Linked DNA regions of Homo sapiens: regions 2, 3, 4 and 5 are each linked to region 1. The links are contacts of gene promoters, found by promoter capture Hi-C in human tissues and cell types (Jung and others, 2019). All regions are on one chromosome and are shown on one strand. Each heading gives the region's core, a stretch centred on a gene start or on the middle of the fragment in contact. The rest is flanking DNA. Distances are from core to core; before and after follow the strand shown. Region 1 holds the start of ADAMTS17 (ADAM metallopeptidase with thrombospondin type 1 motif 17). Region 2 overlaps ADAMTS17 (ADAM metallopeptidase with thrombospondin type 1 motif 17). Region 3 overlaps ADAMTS17 (ADAM metallopeptidase with thrombospondin type 1 motif 17). Region 4 overlaps CERS3 (ceramide synthase 3). Region 5 overlaps ADAMTS17 (ADAM metallopeptidase with thrombospondin type 1 motif 17).

What was found. Contacts are between HindIII fragments. The study calls those that stand out against the background at their distance.
Region 2: a contact is called between a fragment that was not itself captured here and the fragment with the promoter of ADAMTS17 in region 1, in 1 of the 25 tissues and cell types used here (mesendoderm cells).
Region 3: a fragment that was not itself captured here is called in contact with the fragment with the promoter of ADAMTS17 in region 1 in 3 of the 25 tissues and cell types used here (H1 embryonic stem cells, mesendoderm cells and thymus).
Region 4: a contact is called between a fragment that was not itself captured here and the fragment with the promoter of ADAMTS17 in region 1, in 2 of the 25 tissues and cell types used here (aorta and spleen).
Region 5: a fragment that was not itself captured here is called in contact with the fragment with the promoter of ADAMTS17 in region 1 in 1 of the 25 tissues and cell types used here (H1 embryonic stem cells).

The regions. Positions count from the first base shown.
Region 1 is chr15:100,340,606-100,343,368 of GRCh38, reverse strand. It overlaps ADAMTS17 (ADAM metallopeptidase with thrombospondin type 1 motif 17), which reads left to right and starts at 1,394. Exons shown (of 22, transcript NM_139057.4): 1 at 1,394-1,548; 2 at 1,960-2,330. The coding sequence starts at 1,470. RefSeq lists an enhancer at 2,542-2,763. The HindIII fragment of the contact is 7,903 bases long and covers 1-2,763 here.
Region 2 is chr15:100,099,163-100,101,925 of GRCh38, reverse strand. The region is part of intron 14 of ADAMTS17 (ADAM metallopeptidase with thrombospondin type 1 motif 17); the gene reads left to right. Among named protein-coding and RNA genes, the nearest start is that of ADAMTS17, 240 kb to the left of the region's middle. The HindIII fragment of the contact is 5,776 bases long and covers 1-2,763 here.
Region 3 is chr15:100,155,693-100,158,455 of GRCh38, reverse strand. The region is part of intron 8 of ADAMTS17 (ADAM metallopeptidase with thrombospondin type 1 motif 17); the gene reads left to right. Among named protein-coding and RNA genes, the nearest start is that of ADAMTS17, 180 kb to the left of the region's middle. The HindIII fragment of the contact is 5,688 bases long and covers 1-2,763 here.
Region 4 is chr15:100,500,862-100,503,624 of GRCh38, reverse strand. It overlaps CERS3 (ceramide synthase 3), which reads left to right. Exons shown (of 12, transcript NM_001378789.1): 3 at 1,775-1,948. The coding sequence starts at 1,776. Among named protein-coding and RNA genes, the nearest start is that of CERS3, 27 kb to the left of the region's middle. The HindIII fragment of the contact is 5,225 bases long and covers 1-2,763 here.
Region 5 is chr15:100,178,040-100,180,802 of GRCh38, reverse strand. All of the region lies in intron 8 of ADAMTS17 (ADAM metallopeptidase with thrombospondin type 1 motif 17), which reads left to right. Among named protein-coding and RNA genes, the nearest start is that of ADAMTS17, 160 kb to the left of the region's middle. The HindIII fragment of the contact is 4,607 bases long and covers 1-2,763 here.

The DNA of each region.
Region 1 (2,763 bases), core at 145-2,644:
TATATTTCGGGGAAGGTGGCCAGTGTTATAGATTCCTTCAGATGATATGTAATCCTGTGATGAATTTAGATTCCGAGGCTTCAAGCAGCATCCAGCGGGGAACTATAACCTTTCTGCTATGATAAAATGGAAAAGAGCAGGACAGGGAAGGGACGGGAAACCTGAGATTGGTTATGGTTACACTTAATTGTTTTTTTTGTTTTGTTTGGTTTTGTTTTGTTTTTTTGAGATGGAGTCTTGCTCTGTTGCCCAGGCTGGAGTGCAGTGGCACAATCTCGGCTCACTGCAACCTCCACCCCCCGGGTTCAAGCGATTCTTCTGCCTTAGCCTCCCGAGTAGCTGGGACTACAGGTGTGCGCCATCACGCCTGGCTAATTTTTGTATTTTTAGTAGAGACAGGGTTTCACCATATTGGCCAGGCTAGTCTGGAACCCCTGACTTCGTGACCCGCCCGCCTTGGCCTCCCAAAGTGCTGGGATTACAGGCATGAGCCTCTACAAGATGCTATTCAGCAAGCTAATGGAGTCACCTTCCCTGCAGACCTCAGTTATATTGTGGCAGGAAAGGATCAACTCATTCTGTTTCTGGGAGACTCACGTTCAAGGCTAGGCTTTGGGACTTTGTGCCTCCGTTTCCTAACCTGTAACACTGAGTCCTGCTTCCCTCGGGGCGGGGGGATCCTGCTGTTAATAAGAAGCACCAAGCCAGAAATCAGGATCACAAATTCTAGCCTCTGCTCCAACAGGAACTCTCTGGGTAACTTCAGCGTTTTTCCTTAAGCTCTCTCTCTTCCTCAGTTTTTCAGTCTGTAAGAGGGTGTGAGCATGCGTGTTGCACTGGCTCCTGTGGGATTAAAGAAGACAGGAGGTGTGAAGAGTTTGGATAAACGCCGCGGATATAGCCTTCAGGTGCTAACTCAGGTGTGCGGGAAAGTGGACTGGGAGTCTTTGCGGCCACAAACAACTAAAACCTAACTTCAGATGTAAAGATTATATGCAGTTTTGGATGAAACCGCTTGGCCGGGGCGATTTCCGCCCTACCTTCCCGGGAAACTGGGCAGCAGGCTGAGAGAGTTCCAAAATGAGGACAAGCTCTGAAGACCAGCCCCGCATCCTCCAGCTCTTCCAGGGTCCCACGGCTCCGGTCGGCTCCCGCGCGCCACCTGGTGCCGTGTCCCCGCCACTGCCCAGAAACCACGTGTAAGAAAGCGCTGACAACCTAACTACGCACTGTGGTTTCGACCCATCCCAACCAGTAGGGAAGGAGGAGGCGGGGCGGAGGAAAGCGAGGGCCCAATCCCCTCCCGCCTTCCGAGGGGAAGGCGGGGCTTGGGGTTTACCACGTTGGGTTTGTCCGCAGCGCTAATTACTTTTTCCAAAGGCTGGAGGGCTTCACTCCGGCTGGCGCCGCCGCCTAGCGCGCTCCTGCTTCGCCGCCACGGTCCGGGGGGGCTGCCGGTCCCGGGTACCATGTGTGACGGCGCCCTGCTGCCTCCGCTCGTCCTGCCCGTGCTGCTGCTGCTGGTTTGGGGACTGGACCCGGGCACAGGTAGCGCCCCCTCCCACAGCCCTCTTCACCCCGCGTCCTGCGGCTACCTTCCCTCTGCGTTCTCGCGGCGTCCTGGCGGCCCGGGGGCGGCGGCGGGACCGCTGACGGCGCCCGAGCGGAGGAGGCGCGGGCCGCGGCCGGAGTACGGGAATCGGGTGGCTCCGTGGCAGGCGCGCCGCCGCCGGGTCTCCGCTCGCCGATGCGCGGCGCCGTTCCGGGAGGTGCTCGCGCGGCTGCGCCGGAGACCCTCCCCGGGTGGCGCGGGCCAGCGTGGAGGTGCCGGGCGAGGGAAGGGAAGGCAGCGCCGGCTCCGGGTCGCGCTGTCCCCGCGCTGGCGCGGCTGGCGGCCAGCGGGAGGGCGGGCGTCCGGGCGGGCCCCGCCGCGCTGACGCGTCTCCTCTCTCCCCGCAGCTGTCGGCGACGCGGCGGCCGACGTGGAGGTGGTGCTCCCGTGGCGGGTGCGCCCCGACGACGTGCACCTGCCGCCGCTGCCCGCAGCCCCCGGGCCCCGACGGCGGCGACGCCCCCGCACGCCCCCAGCCGCCCCGCGCGCCCGGCCCGGAGAGCGCGCCCTGCTGCTGCACCTGCCGGCCTTCGGGCGCGACCTGTACCTTCAGCTGCGCCGCGACCTGCGCTTCCTGTCCCGAGGCTTCGAGGTGGAGGAGGCGGGCGCGGCCCGGCGCCGCGGCCGCCCCGCCGAGCTGTGCTTCTACTCGGGCCGTGTGCTCGGCCACCCCGGCTCCCTCGTCTCGCTCAGCGCCTGCGGCGCCGCCGGCGGCCTGGTACTGCCCGCGCCACCTCCGGGTCGGCCCGTCCGGTCTGTTGCGACGCAGAGTGGTCGCCGTGGAGGGTGGGGGTGGGGCGCCTCTGCTGGAAGTCCAGCCTCCAGGGGAACCGGAGGGAACCCCCTGCCTTTCCACCTCTCCCCATCCCCCACCCCGGCCTTCGGTACCCTCTATAGGCAAAGGGGGTGGGAGGGGCAGCATCCCAGTCCAGCGCCTCTGCAGCCCGTGGAACCCGCGCGGAGCTGGGGTTGCGTGGGGTATACGCCGCCCGCTCTAGGGAGCGCAGATCTGGCAGGGATGAAACTGTCAGGGCCCTGGACAGAGGCGCCTTGGCCCCAATGTAGAGAACACTGCATCTGCACCGCCGTGTCAAAGTGTATGTCACGGGAGTACCTGTGTACGTGTAGGTGTTATGTTCTTGGACTTGGAG
Region 2 (2,763 bases), core at 112-2,611, 240 kb after region 1:
GCTGCGCAACTGGCCTAAAATCTGCACTCGCTTAAAAGTCATTCAAGAAGTCGGTGGCCTCCCTCCAACCGAAGAGATGGGATGAGGCAGTAGTTGGAAGATAGCTAATAAGTTGAAGAAAGCAAGTACTGCTTATTCCAGCCAGAAAAAACAAGTACCATCAAAACTTGTACGAGGAAGTCCCAATTCAAATATGAGAAAACTAGACTCCCCAGCTTGATAAGAGGTCATCATTTGTATGCTCTTACTGAACACACATGTGCTTAATACCACACCAGCCACTGTGTGTGTCAGAGGATGGGGGAAGGCCAAGAATACAAAGAATTCTCAGACACAGTCCTCTATGTGCTTATGGTCCGTTAGGGAGATGACACATACTCACTTGGAAACCCAACGACCAGAGGCGAAGGCGTGATTTAACAACCAAGAAGAGGTTCCACTTAGACATAGCAGAAAACCCATAGGGTGGAATTTCGTTTATTCCTGCATCAGGTATTTGTTGATCACATTCCGAGTGCTGCACACTGTATTGTGTGCTGGGCTTTCATTAGGGAGCAGGACCAAGAGGATCCCTGTCCCTGTCCAACATACAGACAGGCCATGTCAGCTCACAAACGTGATCATTCCAGAGATTGGTATGTGTGAAGAAGAAAATGGTGCCATAGAGAGACCCAGCGGGGGACTGTGGCTGAGGAGGACAGTGAGCAGGTGGCATGGCATTTCTCTTAGAGGAGACAGCCTTTGAGGAAGAGCCAGCCTGGCAGAGAGTTGGGGGCAGAGAGCTCCAGGCAGAGGGAAGCAAGAGGGAGATGGGTGCATTCCAGCAACAGACGAGGGCGGAGGCTGGCACAAAGGAGCCAGGGCCCAGGCAGAATTGATGCAGAGGAGTGAAGCGATCTTAGCTATGGATAACTGACTCAAGTAGATCCCAGGAAACAAGTTAAGAGGCTATTCTGGTTGCCCACCTGGCTGAGGGGTCATTCCGGGGGAGGGCTTACAAGAGTGGGCTGGAGGGGGTTGGATTCACTGTGCATCTGGAGTGGGGGAGGAAGGCAGGCTGAGTTGGTGAGCAGCTGGAATGAGATCATGGAGGGTCTTAAATTCATATGTGCGGACGTTTCTGATAGGCAGTGGGGATCTTTGGCCACAGATCTTATCTCTCTTTTTGTGTGGAGATTAGTCTGGCAGCAGGCAGGAGAAAAATGCTCCCATAGTTCATGTCCTGATTAAGGAGGGTGTAAACTAGGGAGTGGAGCTGAACATGGAGGAGAAGTAGGCAACAGAGGTTTTCAGGGCACAAAAAACCCAAGCTCACCAACTAACTGGGTACATCCCAAAATAGAAGAGTCAGAAATGGCTTGGAGGTTTCAGGCTAGGATGCCTGTCTGTCAGTTCCAAGACAGTGGCAGGGGGTGTCCAACTAGAATTAAGAGGTCAGGCAGCTTTGGAGGAGAAGCTGTCGCATTGAAAGTGGAGAGATTGCTCAGCAGACTCTTAGTAGTGAGAGCCAGGGTGGAGTGAGGGGAGAAGTGGGCTTAAGAGCTCTTTGCATGAGGATGATGGCTGAAATAAGGAGAAGGCGAAATTACCAAGAAAATGAAAAATCGGAAAAAGCAGGGAGCCCCGGGGGAGCTACCCACTTTCACGGAGTCGAAGAAGCAAGAGGAGGGAGGAGTCATCCAGGGGCTGGGAGGAGAATCAGACAGGAGCCATCCTTGGCTTCCAGGGCATCTTTAGCACACACTCTGGGGTGTCTGCTTGTTTCCGCACTGGCGTCTCCCTCCATCTTACATGTCTTTATTTCCAGGTTAGGCACATAACAGGCACCACGGGTGAATCAATACATGCACAACAGAGACAGGGTGGGCGTTACACACAGCGGACGCTGTAGAGCAGGAGGTGAAAGATGAGGCTGGAGACACGTCCACTAGGTGTGATGACCAGGAGGCTGTTGTCCCTGGTTATCTTCAACAGGGGCAAAGTTCCAGGGTGGAATCCAGGACTCAGACAGCTAAAGATGGACATTTGCCACTGTCCACGGCCCATCCTGTGCCCTCCTCAGCACACGGATCTGAGCACTAAAGCTTTTCCAAGCACTTTCTGCATGTTTCTCAGGAGCTGTCTTGACCAATGAAGAACTTGTGCTTTTCCCCCCGTTCCATCCCATCTCATACCATCTCATACCATCCCATGCCTTTAATTATGCCGTGGGACATTGTTCCTTGGTCCTTTGGTGTCACATACACCCTGACTTAGCCAGAGGCACAGGGCGCGACCAGCAAATGCTGGCCAGGAACTTGAAGCCCTGCTTTGAAAGCTGAGAAATGGGTGATGAAGATTCCTAGGAAAGTAACTAAGGATCACCAGGATAACATGGGAAGACTTGAGAGAGTTTATTGCCTGGAGTTTCCTCAGGCTTGGTCATCTTGTTCTCTTGGAACACCAAGCCTCATAAATACAATCATCAAAGCTCCCCTAATATTCAGAATTAATGACTTCAGTTGTGTCCTATGGCAGCTTCCATTTGAAAACCATCCCAGTTTCTGCCAAGATTATAAGTTGCTTGCGCTGACTGAAACAATGGAAGAAAATGCCCCCGTTCGCAGATTTTGTGGCTGTCACCCGTCAGCATTTAGAGTCACTGCTGTTCAGACATGGACAGCCCTGCATTCCCTGTCTCCAGATGCAGACAGCCTCTAAAATAACACCAAGTAGAGTGGGCAGAACCCATGGACCTGTCCCAGCCCCTGGATGGTCTCCAGA
Region 3 (2,763 bases), core at 154-2,653, 180 kb after region 1:
TTTACCACTGTGAAATACAGTTAAAGAAAATGAACCTCAAAAAAAGAATTCATACTGAGAGTGAAAGTAAAAAGAATTTTTTTGGTGCCAAGGATGAATATATTTTTAAAATCTTTTTTATTTGTAACAGGATTTTTTTAAAGCTGAATGGAGATTGCTTTCTCATGCACTTGTGTATAAGTAAACATTTTCTGTTGCTCACCCAAAAGTAAAGTAAAAAGCTGAGTAATTGCATTGAAAAAATAGAACTCACTTTATTCAACAAAGTGACCATTAAGCAGTGGCTGACGCCTGTAATCCCAGCACTTTGGGAGGCCGAGGCGGGCGGATCACAAGGTCAAGAGGTTGAGACCATCCTGGCCAACATGGTGAAACCCTGTCTCTACTAAAAATACAAAAATTAGCCAGGCGTGCTGGCGCGTGCCTCTAGTCCCAGCTATTCGGGAGGCTGAGGCAGGAGAATAGCTTGAACGCGGGAGGCAGAGGTTGCAGTGATCCGAGATTCTGCCACTGCACTCCAGCCTGGGTGACTGAGCAAGACTCCATCTCAGGAAAAAAAAAAAAAAAGAATATAGCTAAACTGTTCTCACTGGCCATATTTGTCTGATAATTTCTTCAGTCTTCCTTTAACCCTAATTGGATAGATACCTGACACTGAGGCATGAGGACGAGACTGAATCTAACGAGAGGTGACTTTTGCCATTCTGCCAAGCAGTCTGCCACCACGCCAGATCAACACACTTGTCATGGATATGAGTTGTCCGGTATTTTTTTGGCACTTTCTTTGCTATTAAACAGATAATTCGTTCAATAAATATTTTTACCAAATGCTCGCTTTGCACCAGTTTCTGCTGCCCTGAGAAAATAGGGTGAGTTGGAAGAGCCTGTGGGCCTCCAGTCAGGAGGGTCTGAGGTTGATAGCAGTCCAGACCACGCGAAAATATGGCCATCTATACCTAGGTGGCGATGCAGACACTCCCTTTTCAGAAATGACTCTAGTTGGTCACTTGAGCAATTAAGCAAAAAATTGATTCAAGTGGAGAAATAACAAGACATTATATGTAAGTGCCTTAGACATTTTGTTTTAACTTAAGCTATAAAAACATTAGTTTTTTTCAACAATTTTGTAATGGAGAGGGAAAGCCTCTTCTTTGAGGACGGGTGTCTGCCAATTGGACTTCCATGTCACCTTCTGATATGGTTTGGCTGTGTCCCCACCCAAATCTCATTTTGAATTGTAATCCAATGTGTCGAGGGAGGGACCCGCTGGGAGGTGATTGGATCATGAGGGTGGTTTCCTCTGTCCTGTTCTTGTGACAGTGAGAGAGTTCTCACAAGATCTGATGGGTTTGTAAGCATCTGGCATTTTCCTTGCTTGTGCTTCTCTCCCCTGCCACCATTTGAAGTAGGTCTTTGCTTCCCCTTCACCTTCTGCCATGATTGTAAGTTTCCTGAGGTCTCCCTGGCAGAACTGTGAGTCAGTTAAACCTCTTTCCTTTAAAAATTGCCCAGTTTCAAGTGTGAAACACTTTATAGCAGTGTGAAAATGGACTAATACACTTTCCTCACACAAAGCATGCCTATAATAAGAGTTTGAATCTAGTTTCTTTTATATGTGCATGTGTGTGTGTGTGTTTGTATACACATAAAAAGGATTGTAAAAGACTTGTGAAGCAGCCTTGGAGCAGATTTTTATGATTTATTCATCTTTCACAGTTGTCTTGCCCACACCCAGTTGGACAGCAGTCTATCTTAGCTACTGGCTAAATCTGTTTTCATGAGAACAACAACTTGGTGTTTGTCCCCATATTTCGTTGGTTAACCCAACATGTAGCCACATGTATGAATTGAAATAACAAGTGTCACTGACATCAGTAGGTTTAAGAATAAATACAATGGAAGATTGGTAAGGATGCCCCCCCTCCACTGACGGGGGAAGTCACATGTGGGTGATCAGAGAGGGCCCCGCTAGCCCAAAGTTCCAGAACACATGAGCGCCAGGCAGCGGATCCTCCAAAGGACATGGGTGACTTTAGCTGATCCAACTCCACGTGGGAGTTGGCCAAGGGAGCATCTCTGTAGGCAAAAGGGTGTGGGGGTGGCCTGCAGGCATGCAGAGAAGACAGGATGGGTTTCTTTTGGGGAGACACCACCATTAGGCAACAAGCAGGGTTGCTGACGGAAGATGGTCAGATATCTATGAGCAAACTAGGAAAACATGGCTCTAGAGCAGAGTTTAGAAACCTCTTTTATCATTATCTGTGTCAGTGTTCATCTCTTCTCCCAAGCTGGCAGTGATTTGAGGTCTTTTCCTTGTGGTCCGTTACCTGGCACTTGGAAAGTGTCTAATATTTTTGAATGAATGAAAGTACATGTTCTTTTTTGTTGTCGTTGTTCCACTGAGATTGTTGAAAGATGGTCATCCTTATACACGTTGGGGCATAAGAACTCTGGGTCAGCAAACTGGGCAACTGGATCTTGCGTGCTGCATGTCTTGGCTCACCCCAGTGAGGGCAAGTGTATAAGCTAAGATCACTGTTCAGCTCACAGTGTGATGAGCCCTCCAGGCCTAGACAGGCATCCTGGTATGTCTCAGGTATAGCTGAATAGGGAAGGTGACAGGTGTGATCTTGTTAGATGTGAAAGATAGAAAAGCCATACTCTGTAATGAGTTGGAAGGCTTAGATTCAGATCATTCTGTAAGTCAAGGTCTAGGATGGTACCCAGTGATTCCCGTTAGCACAGTGATTATCTCTAAGGAAC
Region 4 (2,763 bases), core at 57-2,556, 160 kb before region 1:
GTCTGCCTAGAGAGAATACCTTCCTCTAATCAGCACAAAGACACCCTATGGGCTCACAGAGGAGCTGGCTACCAAATTGACCTTTCTAAAATAGCTGACCATCTCATTCCTCTTCATAATACCCTTCAGTGGGTCCTATCAGCTAAATGCCAAACTCCTTAGCATGGAATGCAAGCAAACGCTCTAAGGCCTAGCCTGCTTGTCCCACCAGCATTTTAATGAGGGTGATCATATGATTTATTGTCCAAAGTATTCCTTTCAGAATACTTCTGAAAGGAAGGAAGAGCTGTTACTGATTATGCCAGGGCAATCCACTGCAGTGCCTGGGCACTTATTTGTAACCTACCATTCCACACCTTGGATTCATTCACTGTGGTAGTACCAACCCACTGGTAGTTTTCTATGTGCGCCTTGTTATTTCCCGATTAAGAGGTTTTGACAGAGTGATTTTGACAACCTTGTTGTGAATCTGAGGACATTTTGATTCCTTTTTCTGATTAAACATTAAAAGATGAAATTCATGCATCCTCAAGTCAAAATCCCAAGTCCAAAATGATCACAGCCTAAACAATGATATTAAAACATCTAATTTACATTATTCTATGCTCTGGTTACTTGATTGTAGTCTGAATACTTTGTCTGCTTAGAACTTGTATTCCTTCTTCCCCATTTTCCTGCCTTTCCTGGCTTATGTCCACTTATTGTTCAAGATATCTCAAGGACTTTTTCTTCCAGTTACCTTTCCCTGATATTTCCTGGTTGGGCTCAGTGCCCATCATCTTGTTCCCACAGCAACCTGTATACGTTTTTTAGCATACCTAAAAAAAAAAATGTGTTGAAGTCATGAGTTCAGGCCTGCCTTGCTTACGAGACTATTATGTCCTCAAGGCAGGAAGCCTGTCTTATTAATTGTTTTATCCTCAGTGCTCAGCACGGCTCTTCACAAATAACAGAATCTTAATAAATATTCCTTTACATAGACTAATTTGATCTCCTTGTAATATGAAGTGAAACGTGCCTGCCCCTTATTTCCTGGGGAATTTTTTAGGGTACTAGTGATGATTTGTACCTACCTGGAGCCTTCAGGACATTGACTTTTGGCATGTTAAAGTTGTAAAGCCTATTGTTATTTTTTTATACCATAGAATCATACACAAAGAAAATACACGTGCATAATATTCACATATGTTTTGCCAAAAGTGTGAATAGTGATGTGTTAAACTTGAGTTTTTCCATAAACAAAATTGTCCTGAGGGTATGGAAGAGTAATTCCTGTTTAATGCAATGAAGGATCATATAATCCATTAAATAATAGTATTCCATTCTTGCCTTATTTTCTTTCTTTCTTTCTTTCTTTTTTTTTTTTTTTTTTTCTTTTTTTGAGGTGGAGTCTTGCTCTGTCGCCAGGCTGGAGTACAGTGGCGTGATCTTGGCTCACTGCAAACTCCGCCTCCTGGGATCAAGCTATTCTCCTGCCACAGCCTCCCAAGTTGCTGGGACTACAGGTGTGCACCACCACACCTGACCAATTTTTGTATTTTTAGTAGAGATGGGATTTCACCATGTTGGCCAGGATGGACTTGATCTCTTGACCTCATGATCCGCCCGCCTTGGTCTCCCAAAGTGCTGATATTGCAGGTGTGAGCCACTGCGCTAGGCCTCTTGCCTTATTTTCTAAGCTCTCTGGATCTGGCATTTTGAGCCAAGGTGATCAATGTTATCCTAAAGTTACGTGTTTGTTTTACAAGCCTAATGTCTGTTTCCATTTCTCTAGAATGTTTTGGACGTTTAAAGAATGGTTCTGGTTGGAAAGATTCTGGCTTCCTCCAACAATAAAGTGGTCAGATCTTGAGGATCACGATGGACTCGTCTTTGTAAAACCTTCTCATTTATACGTGACAATTCCATATGCTTTTCTCTTGCTGATTATCAGACGTGTATTTGAAAAGTAAGTAGTACTTGTGTCTTTCCTTCCCATTCCCCCTCTTTGCTCTAACACTAGAATAATACAGTCTTAGGCTTAGTGAGATCCTTAAAGAATCTGTTGTTCAGAGGTTGCCACTAATGGGCCACAGATTCTGGGGATGAGTTAATGTAATCAGATGCGCTCCAAATGTTATTTAAAGGCTGAACAACAAAAAATTAGAAACATGGATCCCACTGAGTGCTTTAGTTTTATAACGAAGAAAATCAAGATCAAGAGAGGTTGCGGACCACAGAGCTTATTGGTATCAATGACAATACGGGAACCCAGTTCATCTACTCTTCCACGGTGTCTGACAATGCATGTGCATTCCCAGAAAGGCTGTGCTAGAAGAGTCTATGACTCAGGAAGCATTAGCATCCTCAAGTGCCTATAAAATAACAAAAATGGCTCATTAAAGTCTAAACCAAATATTGCTATATAGTATAGCTTATTTTAAAGGTTTATTTAAAGGTTTAATAGCTGCCCTTCGTTCTAAAGTGCAAGGAAATCAAAGAGAAAAACTATCAGTTTGCTTTCTCAGAAAAAGTAAACTTATTTTTTTCTTGATTTAATTTAAATGGATATTATTTCCAGCCTTTTTATTAAAATTGTACTAGTGTTATGATAACAGTAGATAAATGTTCATCTATAATCTCTGTTGTTGACTCTATTTCAAAAAGCTGTTATTAGCACATTAATTTATTTGGAGCAAAGAGAATATTCAAATGTCAAGAGTTGGAAAAACTTGAGACAAAATCTGATAGAGATCATTTTGTCCAAGACTAACTGTAATGCAG
Region 5 (2,763 bases), core at 196-2,695, 160 kb after region 1:
CAGGCCTTGGGTAATCCCATTTATAATAGCTACAAATAAAATACCTAAGAATTAACTTAACCAAAGAAGTAAAAGATCTCTGTAATGAAAATTATAAAACACTGATGCAAGCTATTGAAGGGGACTCAAAAAAAATGGAAAGATATTCAGCGTTCATGAATTGTAAGAATAAATACTGTTAAAACATCCATACTACCCAAAGCAATCTACAGATTCAGTGCAATCCCTATCAAAATATCAATGACATTCTTCACAGAGATAGAAAAAAAATCCTAAAATTTATATGGAACCATAAAAGACCCAAAATAGCAAAAGCTATCCTGAGCAAAAAGAACGAAACTGGAGGAATCACATTACCTGACTTCAGATTATACTGTAGAGCTATAGTAACCAAAATGGCATGGGTATTGGCATTTAAAACAGATACACAGAGCAATGGAACAGAATGGAGAACCCAGAAACAAATTCATACATCTACAGTGAACTCATTTTTGACGAAGGTGCCAAGAACATACGTTGGGGAAAGGACAGTCTCCTCAATAAGTGGGGCTGGGAAAACTAGATATCCATATGCAGAAAACTGAAACTAGATCCCTTTCTCTTGCGATGTACAAAAACCAAAATAGATTAAAGACTTAAATCTAAGACCTCAAACTATGAAACTGATAAAACAGTGGGGAGACACTCCAGGACAGTGGTCTGGGCAAAGATTTCTTGAGTGATACCCCACAGGAACAGGCAGCCAAAGGAAAATTGGACAAATGGGATCACATCAAGTTAAGAAGCTTCTGCACAACAAAGAAAACAACCAGCAAAGTGAAGAGACACCCCACAGAATGGGAGAAAATATTTACAAACTACCCATCTGACAAGAGATTAATAACCAGAATACATAAGGAGCTCAAACAACTCTTAGGAAAAAATCTTATAATCTGATTTAAAAACGCGCAAAAGATCTGAATAGACATTTTTCAAAAGAAGACATACAAATGAAAAAGTGTTCATCATTGATCATCAGAGAAATGCAGATCAAAACTACCATGAGATATCATCTCACCCCAGTTATAAAGGCTTTTATCCAAAAGACAGGCAATAACAAATGCTGGCAAGGTTGTGGAAAAAAGGCAACCCTCATACACTGGTGGGAATGTAAATTAGTACCACCACTATGGAGAACAGTTTGGAGGTTCCTCAATAAACTAAAAATAGAACTATTTTTGTGATCCAGCAATCTCTCTGCTAGGTATATACCCAAAAGAAAGGAAGTCAGTATATCAAAGAGATATCTGCACTCGCATGTTTATTGTAGCACTAGTCACAATAGCCAAGATTTGGAAGCAACCAAAGTGTTCATCAACAGAGGAATGGATTAAAAAAATATGGTACTTACCACAATGGAGTAGAAAGAATGAGATCCTGTCACTTGCAACAACGTGGATGGAACTGGAGGTCATAATAAGCCAGGCACAGAAATACGAACTTCACATGTTCTACTTATTTGTTGGAGCTAAAAATTAAAACAATTGAACTCATAGAGAGTAGAATGATGGTTACCAGAGGCTAAGACGGGTAATAGGAGGCTGGCAGGGAAGTGAAGATAGTTAATGGGTACAAAAACTAGTTAGAAGGAATGAATAAGACCTAGTATTTGGTTCCACAACAGGGCTATAGTTATAATTTAAATGTACATTTTTAAATAACTAAAAAAGTATACTTGGATTGTTGGAGATGATGATACCCCGTTTGCCCTGATATAATTATTAGACATTGTATGTCTGTATCAAAATATCTCATGCACCCCATAAATACATACAGCTACTATGTACCCACAGAAATTAGGAAAAAAAAATTGGGAACAATGTATTGCCTCTAAAGGAACAGCAATTTGGATGACGATAGGTTTCTCATCTGAAATCATAGAGGCCAGAATGAAGTGGCACAAAATTTTTTTTAAGTGTTGAAATAATTCTCAATTTTCAATCCTATATCAAATAAAACTATCCTTCAGGAATGAAGAAAAAATACATTCTCAGAAAAAGGAAATCTAATAGAATTTGTTGCTAGTAAACGGACCCTTAAAGAATGGCTGAAATAAGCTCTCCAAAGAAAATGGTAGGAGAAGAATATGGATCCTTCAAAACAGAATGGGTAAAAGAACAACAGAACAATAGTAAAAAACAACAGAATGGGTAAAAGAACAACAGAACAATAGTAAAAGAACAACAGAATGGGTAAAAGTACAACTACATATTATAGAGTATTCTTAACTTCGTAAACTTTTTAAGTCATATTCTAGCTTTGAAGCATAAGTTATAACATTTCATGTATGTAGACAGAACACTTAAGGCAGTGCATTATGGGGAGGGTATGAGGATCTAAATAAATGTCACATTTCTCTGCTTAACTCAGAGTGGTGAAATGTCAACACCAGTTGGCTGTGATGTGTGTATATGGCAATACCTAGAAGAACCACTAAGAGAACTATACAGAGTGATATTTTTAAAATCATGAATAAATCAAAATCAAACTCTAATTGATGTTCAAGTAACCCACAGGATGTCTAGAAAAAAGAAACAAAAGAAACAAAACAAATAATAAAATGGCACACTTAATCCCTAACATGTCAGTAATTGCTTTCAATGATCTAAAAAAATACTTCAGCTAAAAGACAAACACTGGCAGAATGGATTTAAAAATGTGACCTAACTATCTGCTCCCTGAAAGAAACTCATTTCAAACATAATGACATAGGTAGATTGAATG